Regions from separate parts of the Homo sapiens genome. Here regions 2 and 3 are each linked to region 1. The links are contacts of gene promoters, found by promoter capture Hi-C in human tissues and cell types (Jung and others, 2019). All regions are on one chromosome and are shown on one strand. Each heading gives the region's core, a stretch centred on a gene start or on the middle of the fragment in contact. The rest is flanking DNA. Distances are from core to core; before and after follow the strand shown. Region 1 holds the start of TACO1 (translational activator of cytochrome c oxidase I). Region 2 overlaps TANC2 (tetratricopeptide repeat, ankyrin repeat and coiled-coil containing 2). Region 3 overlaps TANC2 (tetratricopeptide repeat, ankyrin repeat and coiled-coil containing 2).

Region 1 (2,998 bases), core at 381-2,880:
TAAATAAAAGTTGCTTGAACTTAATATCAAGAATTTTGAAGAAAAGGAAGCAAACAAATACCAGGCATGAGCTGAGGGGGTAAATTAACATTAACTGAATGCCTATGATGTGCCATAAACCATAAACTACCTCAAGGTGGGTATTATCCTTGTTTCAGAGAAACTCAAGTTAAGCTACTTGTTCAAGGTTAGTCAGTGACAGAAACCAGTCTTCCTGACTCCAAAGTCCACAGTTTCTCTCTCTTTTTTTTTTTTTTTTTTTGAGATGGAGTCTTGCTCTGTCACCCAGGCTGGATGGAGTACAGTAGAGCAATCTCGCTTACTGCAGCCTTCAACTCCTGGGTTCAAGCAATTCTCCTGCTTCAGCCTCCCGAGTAGCCAGCATTACAGGCATGCACCACCATGCCCAGCTGTTTTTTTTTTTTTTTTTTTTTGTTATTTTTAGTAGACACAGGGTTTCCCCATGTTGGCCAGGCTAGTCCTGAACTCCTGACCTCAAGTGATCTGCCTGCCTCTGGCCTGGGATTACAGGCTGTGCCACTGCGCCCAGTCCAAAGTCCATGCTTTCTACAGGACTTTTCCTTTGCTCCTACAGATGTCTGGCCCTAAACAGAAAAAAAGCCTTTTCAGTGTGGCGACCTAAGGGAGAAAAGACATGGCTGCAAATCTACCTTCCAAGGAAATGTGTCTTGGGGAAACATTAATGAAGCAAACTAAGGCCTAAGCTAAGGCCTAAGCACTTAAGTAATAGCTTTACTCAGTGCCCCTGCCACAACCAATAAGGTACTTGAGGCGACTTCAGAGGGGTTGATTTGTCTCTTCAGGAGAGACACACATCTGCCCTGACTCTTAGGGCTTGTTTCTATTAAGTACCCAGCTAGATTAGGATGAAGTCACTTCTACCTTACCGGCTTATCTTCTTAAGAGCAGCTCCCTCTCTGACAAACTGGCCAGATGCTCAGCGTCTGGAAAAGTGAGTGAGAACCTCCAACGTAGGGTAGGTGTTTTGAGGATTTATGAGGTGGGCAATGGTGGGTACTGGGGAAGGAAAACAAAGTGAAGGGCCGGAGATCTAGGTGGGCCCAATTCCGAGAGGCAAGCGAGGCTGCGGGCACTGAGAGGGCAGCGGCAGCCAGTGCTGGGTGACCGTCAGGGTCTCACCTTTCACTGCCAGGCGGATGTTCAAACAGAGTTTGGAGAAGATGCGACTCCTTTCGACGTCCTTCGGACCCTTGATGTGCCTGACTTTGGACCACTTGTTGTGCCCGGCGGGGACAGCCGCGGTAAAGTGCAGCGTCCTGCCCGGAGCGGCACCGCAGCCCCGGGGCTCGGGGTGGGAGGGCCGGGGGTCGCGCGGAGGAGCCGCCCTGACCCCGGGGCCTCGTGCCAGCAAGCATCGGGCAGCGGCCCTGCTTAGGCTGGCAGCAGCCCAAGCCGACATCGGTCCCGACCCTGGGGTTCAAGCTGCTAGCAGCAGCGGCCAACGCCGGCGCGTCTCTTCCACTGCCGGAACAAGCAGTTCCGGACCCCGCGGCCGCCTGTGCCGGTCACCTGAGATCCAAAGGCTTGGGCCCGCCCGGGGCGGCTCAACAGCTAATGACCCTACACTGTCCCCGCGGCACCCGGGACTGGGGGCCCTTGATGGCGTAGCACACTTCCTTTACCGGGTTCGCTCCAAAAACACGTCCCCACTGCCCGCAAAGTCCGTTCCGTGGCTGCACGGTACTCGCTCCTCTCTTGCCCTTGAGCAGATCTAGTTAGTGCTCAAGCCCTCACGGTTGCCTAGAGAGCGCCGGACTTTGTTTCTCATAATGTTTTAGTGGAGACACATCTGAGTTATGAAACTGACTTTGCTTCCAAATTGCTGCCTAAATCTGAGCAAGTCCAGAATGATATTTTGTTGTTGCCTCATTGTACTGGGAAAGAAACTGCTGCCAGAGAAGTGAATTGCCCAAATGTTTAATCTCTCTGAACGTCTTCCCTATTTATAAATAAGGATCTAATATTTGCTTTATCAACATAGGAAAGTTAGAAACACAAAATGAGCCCTTAGAGCTTTAAAGTAATAAAGTTTTATGTAAATAGCCACAGTGCACTTAAGCCCCTAGATGCAAGAGATGGTTTGGGACAGACTCAGATGAGTCACAGGCCTTTGGGAGAGGGAGAATGATCAGACAAGCCCTTTGGAGCTAAACTCCCCTCTTCATTTTCTCTCTGCTGTCTCGAAAGAGAAAACCGAATCCGTTAGAAGATGGAGAGAAACAAAGCGGCAGCTGCTGAAAAGCTTTGTAGTGACTCCCATGCTGGTGAGATTAAGTCCAAAGGGCATGACATATCAGGTAGAGAAGCAGGACAGCCGGGCGCGGTGGCTCACGCCTGTAATCCCAGCACTTTGGGAGGCTGAGGCAGACGGATCGCTAGGTCAGGAGTGCCAGACCAGTCTGACCAACATGGTGAAACCCCGTCTCTACTAAAAATACAAAAAAATTAGCCGGCCGTGGTGGCGCGCGCCTGTAATGCCAGCTACTCAGAAGGATGAGGCAGGAGAATCGCTTGAACCCGGGAAGAGGAGGTTGCAGTGAGCCGAGATCGCGCCACTGCACTCCAGCCTGTGCGACAGAGCGAGAATCCAACTCAAAAAAAAAAAAAAAAAAGAGAGAGAGAGAGAGAGAGAAGCAGGACAGTGTGAAGTCCAAGTTTGTGCCCTCTGCAGTTAGACTGGGTGGCTTCAAACCCTGGTTGTTCCATTTTCTAGTGTATCCTTGGGCAAGTTCCTTTACTTTCCTGTTTCAGTTTCCTTACCATAGAATGGCCTTGTGAGGACTAAATGGGATAATGGATGCAAAGCACAAAAGCATAGATTTTTTATTTTTTATTATATAAGAACCTCCATGGGGCTGGGTGCGGTGGCTCACGCCTGTAATCCTAGCACTTTGGGAGGCCGAGGCTGGCAGATCACTTGAGGTCAGGAGTTCAAGACCAGCCTGGTCAACATGGT
Region 2 (2,952 bases), core at 24-2,523, 410 kb after region 1:
TTATGTTATAAACATTTAGATAACTTATTTTTTTCTCAAGAACAATTGAAAGCTTCTTATTCCTTGATAAAATGAAAAGGCAAAACTGGTCTCTTCAAATTAATGAGTAACACTTTCCTCCCTCCTAAAGGTTAAACTAACTAATCTTTTGCAAATTTTTCTCATTGTAGATTCCAGACCTCTAGATATTCTGGGGCTCTATTTCACTGTCTCCTACAAAGTTACTCTGATAATAAGTGTTTCCTATGTACATGGTTAACAACAGATACGAGAATTTATACAACACGGAGATATAGTCATTGACTTTGAAAAGTTTATAATCTATATGGAAAATAAGAGTATATATTTATTTAGCATATACTTACATAATGCTTATGATGTACAAGTCACTAGTGTAAACACTTTACATATATTAGCTTAACCTTCATAACTTTAGATTCCACTTTCTAAGGTAGAAATTATTACCCTCATTTTACAGATGAGAAAATAGAGGCACAGATACATTAAATTATTTGCTCAAAGTAATAAAACCAGTAAATGGCAGAGCCAGGATTAGAACTTGAGCTCCCTGACTCCAGAATCTATGCTCCCAATGAGCACAACACAGTGTCTTCCTCACTGGAAAGAAATATTACAAATGGTGAGAATGTCTGAATAAGAGATAACTTGTAATAATAGGCATATTGCTCATAGCATGTTAATCTCAATAATCTTAACAAAGCATGTTGTAAACACTAAGTAAGGTAATCGAATGGAGGTTCTTAAGAGACAGATAACTGCAACCCTTTCTACATTACTACTTTCAGTACTTCCAAGTACTAATGCAGAAAGAAGTTCAAGAATTCTTCTGTGAGTGGCTATATTAGATACTGCTACCACACCAGGTCCTTTTCATCTGGTTTGACTGGTATTTTTTAAACCTTGCTAAATCTACTTTTTCTTTCCTATTTACTTACCTCGTCTCAAAATATCATTTGAGGATGACATTAATATATTATCTGTCGTGCACTCTATAACGAAAGAAATCCGATACCAGGTTATGATACGAAAAAACTATCTTTGGCAATTACATTTGTTTTGAACTTTTCTTATTTGTTGATCTTGAGTAAAATTTTACACATTATGAAAGGCCTAGTAGATGAATTAGTGGGGGCTTCTCAAATAACAGACAGGGACCTAATTGCGAATCCCTCCATCTTAAGTCTTAGATTATCAACGGCTGCCTCTGTCTCCTCTTCCTGAAAGTATGCCAGGATTTCTGGTGGAATAAAGTAGAAACAGTAGAGGCACTTCCTTTCTGGTTTCTAGATTACAGACTTAACTGTCAGTAACCTCTTCCCTATTCCACTTTCATTTCCTATTTTAAAATAAATTAAAAATAGTTACTTCTGAAAACAAACAAGGGTGGGGCCAGGCGCGGTGGCTCATGCTTGAAATCCCAGCACTTTGGGATGCCGAGGCAGGTTGATCACTTGAGCCCAGGAGTTCAAGACCAGCCTGGGCAACGTGGTGAAACCCCGTCTCTGCAAAAAATACAAAAATTGGCTGGGTGTGGTGGCGCGCGCCTGTGGTCCCAGCTACTTAGGAGACTGAGGCAGGAGAACTGCTTGAACCCAGGAGGCCGAGGTAGCAGTTAGCCATGATCATGTCACTGCACTCCAGCCTGGGCAACAGAGCAAGATCCTGTCTGAAAAATAAATAATATATTTTTTTAAAAGGTGGGAATATCTGAAATATATTTTGAAGTTGCTCTGTAGGACCAGATGAACAGCTTCTCACTTGCAGGAATTTATTAGTTTGGTGCAAAAGTAATTGAGGTTTTTGCCATTATGGCACCATTAAAGGTAATGGCAAAAACCACAATTACTTTTGCACCAACATAATAGTGTATTCAAATACTGTATGTTGAAACACAAAGCCAGGTCCTCCCCTCCAAACCATTTCATTTAAAATATGCTTAAAATGTCACCAGGTCACGCATTTTCATTTTTTTCCTACTTAGTGTACGTTGATTCTGCATTCTTCCTTAAATACTACCATTTTTCTTCCCTTTTTGTTTCATTTCTACTTCCCACTTGCAAGTAACTGCTACGATAAAACCTCTCTGCCTGCAAAATGAAAATTTACCAGGAGAAAAAAGTCTGGCCAGTGGAATAAAGATAGCCTTTTTCCCCCTCATTACAATTAACAATAGGGCCATTTGAAGATCACTAAAAGGGAGGATTTAATGGAAATAGTGGTAGCTTAAGAGAGAGAAATCAGTGCTAAATTATCAGGGTTATTGGGTTCTTAATTTTTAAGAACAGAGAAAGTGATTTAAAAAAATTTAAGAAAATTCTTTGACATACTTTAAAGATTGTCTGGTCTTTGGAGGCAATGTGTATTTTAGAATGAGTTTCATCCATATTGTGTGTATCAAATCTTCTTTTTTTGCAGGGGGGAGGGTGCATTATGGTTTTCCATGTTCATGGTTTGGAAGACAATTTTGTTATGATATCAATACTCCCCAAATCAATCTACCAATTTAATGCAATCCTTATCAAAATTCCAGCTGCTTGCTTACTCGCTTCCTTTCCTTCTTCCCTTATTTTTGCAGAAATTGACCAGCTGATCATAAAAATTATATGGAAATATAAGGGGCCCAAAATTAAAAAACAACCTTTAAAAAGAAGAACAGAGTTGGAAGACTCACATTTCCTATTTTCAAAATTTATTACAACGCAACATTAATCAAGGCAGTATGGTACTGGCATCAGAATAGACCAATGAAATAAAGAGTCCAGAAATAATACTCTTACATTATGGTCAATTGATCTTTTTTTTTCTTTTCTAGGACAGGGTCTCGCTCTGTTGCCCAGGCTGGAATGCAGTGGTACAACCATGGCTCACTGCAGCCTCGACCTCCTGGGCTCAAGCAATCCTCTTGCCTCAGCCTCCTGAGTAGCTAGGGCT
Region 3 (2,866 bases), core at 300-2,799, 490 kb after region 1:
AGTACTAGTTTTTTGCTTATTCATTTTCCCTTTTAACTTTATTGATTACTTCATGTTTACTATGTCTTCCTCGATCTCCTTATTAGTTCATTTATTTTCAGTACTTCTTGTTTTCTAATAAAAGTATTCAAGGTAATGACTTTTCCATAGAGTACCACTTTGGCTACATTTCATAAGTTTTAATACATAATACATGTTAATTTCCAACTTTTTTTTCAATTTTGGTTTCTGTTTTAACCCAAAAGTTATTTTAAAAAGTTATTTTAAAACTTTAAAATTTTAGAAGTAGAAAAGAAATTTCTCCCTATCTTCTTTGTTGTTAGATTCTATTTTGATTTTCAATGAAAAATATGTGCATTGTACAGAGATTTCTTTATGGCCAACTATATAATCAACTTTTTAAAATTTTTTATTTTTATTTATTTATTTATATTTTTTTTGAGATGGAGTCTTGCTCTGTCACCAGGCTGGAGTGCAGCCGCATGATCTTGGCTCACTGCAACCTCTGCCTCACGGGTTCAAGGGATTCTCCTGCCTCAGCCTCCCAAGGAGCTGGGACTACAGGCACATGACACCACACCCAGCTGATTTTTGTATTTTTAGTAGAGATGGAGTTTCACCATGTTGGCCAGGATGGTCTCGATCTCTTGGCCTCTGATCTGCCCGCCTCGGCCTCCCGAAGTGCTGGGATTACAGGCGTGAGCCACAACGTCTGGCCTATAATCAACTTTTATAAACAGTTCACAAGTGCTGGAAAACAATACAAGTATAAGAAATCTTATGTTTTTCAGTATGAGGTTCTACACTCGGCTGAATTAAGCTTTTAAAAACTTGACACATATTAACTTTACATATTTATGGGGTATATGTAATATCTGGATACAGGCATATAATATGTAATGATCAAATCAGGGTAACTGAGATATCCATCACCTCAAACACTTATTTCTTTTTGTTTAGAACATTCCAAGTATTTTAGCAATTCTGAAATATAATGAGTTAAGTTTAATTGCTTATTATTCAAATTATCCATATCCTTTAATGAGCTGTTCATTTTATGAGGCATGAAATCTGCCTTAACTCATTTATGCCTAGTGTTCCACTATTGGAACGCTAAGCTTGTGGGAGTTATTTATATCCTACTGCTCAAGGTCATGGCCAAGGTCTGATTTTTGACATGAAAAAATTTGTAGCCTCTGGCATAAATGGGTTAAATATAAATTCATCAACTTTCCCTTTCATTGCTAATGTTTACTATATGAAGTTTTTATTTTTAAAAAACTTCCTTATTGAGATATAAGTACAATTTAATGGATTTAGTTCATTCACAGAGTTGTACAATTGTCAGCATAATCTAAGTTTAGAACATTTTCATCACCCCAAAATGAAACCCTATACCCTTAAGCATTCACTACCTATACCATCGTTGGTGACCCCTTTCCCTTAGGTAACCACCAATTAACATTCTGTCTCTATAGATTACTTGCCTATTCTGGACATTTCATATAACTGCAATTGTATAACATATGTTCTTTTGTGACTGGTTTCCTTCACTTAGTGTAACGTTTTCAAGGTTCACCATGGATCATGAAAGCATTTATTTTTAATGCCAAATAATACGAATATATCACTTTTTATTTATCCACTCATCAGCTGATGAACATCAAACTGTTTTCACTCTTTGGCTATTATGAATAATGCTGCTATGAACATACATGTACAAGTTTTGGTGTGAACATATGTTTTCTTTTCTCTTGGATAACTTTATACATTTTGATGCCATGTTGTCTCATGCATAAAAAAGCAATAATCGTTAACATCTACTTCATGAATTGTATCTGCATAAAATATCAAATAAAACTTTTTTATTTGTGTTTAATATTATTGCAAATAATACTATCCTTTTCTCAACATTTATTTGGTATATATTTTTCATTCCTTTATTTGTAAGCTTCCTCTCAATTTGTTTAGAAGCATCTATTATAAATAACACTCCCTGGAAATGCTTTTTATACATTCTGATAACTTTGTCTTTATAAGGGAAACTGAAATCACTTTCTTGTGACAAGCAACTTATTTTATCTTATTTGACTTTTAAAAATATTTTTCTTATTGTTTTTCTTCCATTCCAATTTTCATCATAACCTTGCAAATCATCTAACCTGACAGAAATGAAACCACTTCATCTTAAAAGTATCAATGACTTGTTATTTTGGCTCTCTCTTCATTAAGGGTCATTTGGGCACTTTCGCAAACTTTCCCTAGTGGTGGCTGAATAGAGGTAGGAAGACAAGGCTACTATATTTCAAAAGAATACATACAGTAATACTACACTTACTACAAATAATCCTTTTATAAATAAACACTACAATACTATAAATAAAACTTTCACTTTGTATGAGTGACTTCCATTCAAATATGAAAAGAAAAAAAACTAGAAAATTACTTTCTTGTCTAAAACCTCACAGGTTAAATATAAAAAGAGAAGGTTTAATTATTTTGAAATCCAGTGTGTGCAAATATCACAAAAGGATTATTTGTTTGATAATTCATGCCGCCTTTTAGGTGTTCAACATATACGCAGTGGCAAAGGCTCACCCCTTAACCAAACTTTAGTCAGGTTCCTCTGATACCTCTTTTCAACGTTCTTGCGTGGGCCTTGTCCTCACGCCTCCTGGCCCAGTTGTAGCAAGAATCCTGCTAACTCAGTTTAGTGAGAATCCCCCTACCCTTGATAATCTGGTCAACATGGCTTGCCTTCAGCAAGGCACTGTTTAGTTGGTTCGGCAATAATCCCCTTACTCTTGAAGCTTCCTCTTAATAATTTTCCATCCACTGATTCTATCCTCTGCCCCACTCTGCTCCT

What was found. Contacts are between HindIII fragments. The study calls those that stand out against the background at their distance.
Region 2: a fragment that was not itself captured here is called in contact with the fragment with the promoter of TACO1 in region 1 in 1 of the 25 tissues and cell types used here (hippocampus).
Region 3: a fragment that was not itself captured here is called in contact with the fragment with the promoter of TACO1 in region 1 in 2 of the 25 tissues and cell types used here (dorsolateral prefrontal cortex and hippocampus).

What each region holds. Positions count from the first base shown.
Region 1 is chr17:63,599,527-63,602,524 of GRCh38, reverse strand. It overlaps TACO1 (translational activator of cytochrome c oxidase I), which reads right to left and starts at 1,630. Exons shown (of 5, transcript NM_016360.4): 1 at 1,162-1,630. The coding sequence starts at 1,441. The HindIII fragment of the contact is 17,557 bases long and covers 1-2,998 here.
Region 2 is chr17:63,190,219-63,193,170 of GRCh38, reverse strand. All of the region lies in intron 5 of TANC2 (tetratricopeptide repeat, ankyrin repeat and coiled-coil containing 2), which reads right to left. Among named protein-coding and RNA genes, the nearest start is that of TANC2, 230 kb to the right of the region's middle. The HindIII fragment of the contact is 6,153 bases long and covers 1-2,952 here.
Region 3 is chr17:63,106,382-63,109,247 of GRCh38, reverse strand. The region is part of intron 4 of TANC2 (tetratricopeptide repeat, ankyrin repeat and coiled-coil containing 2); the gene reads right to left. Among named protein-coding and RNA genes, the nearest start is that of TANC2, 140 kb to the right of the region's middle. The HindIII fragment of the contact is 4,415 bases long and covers 1-2,866 here.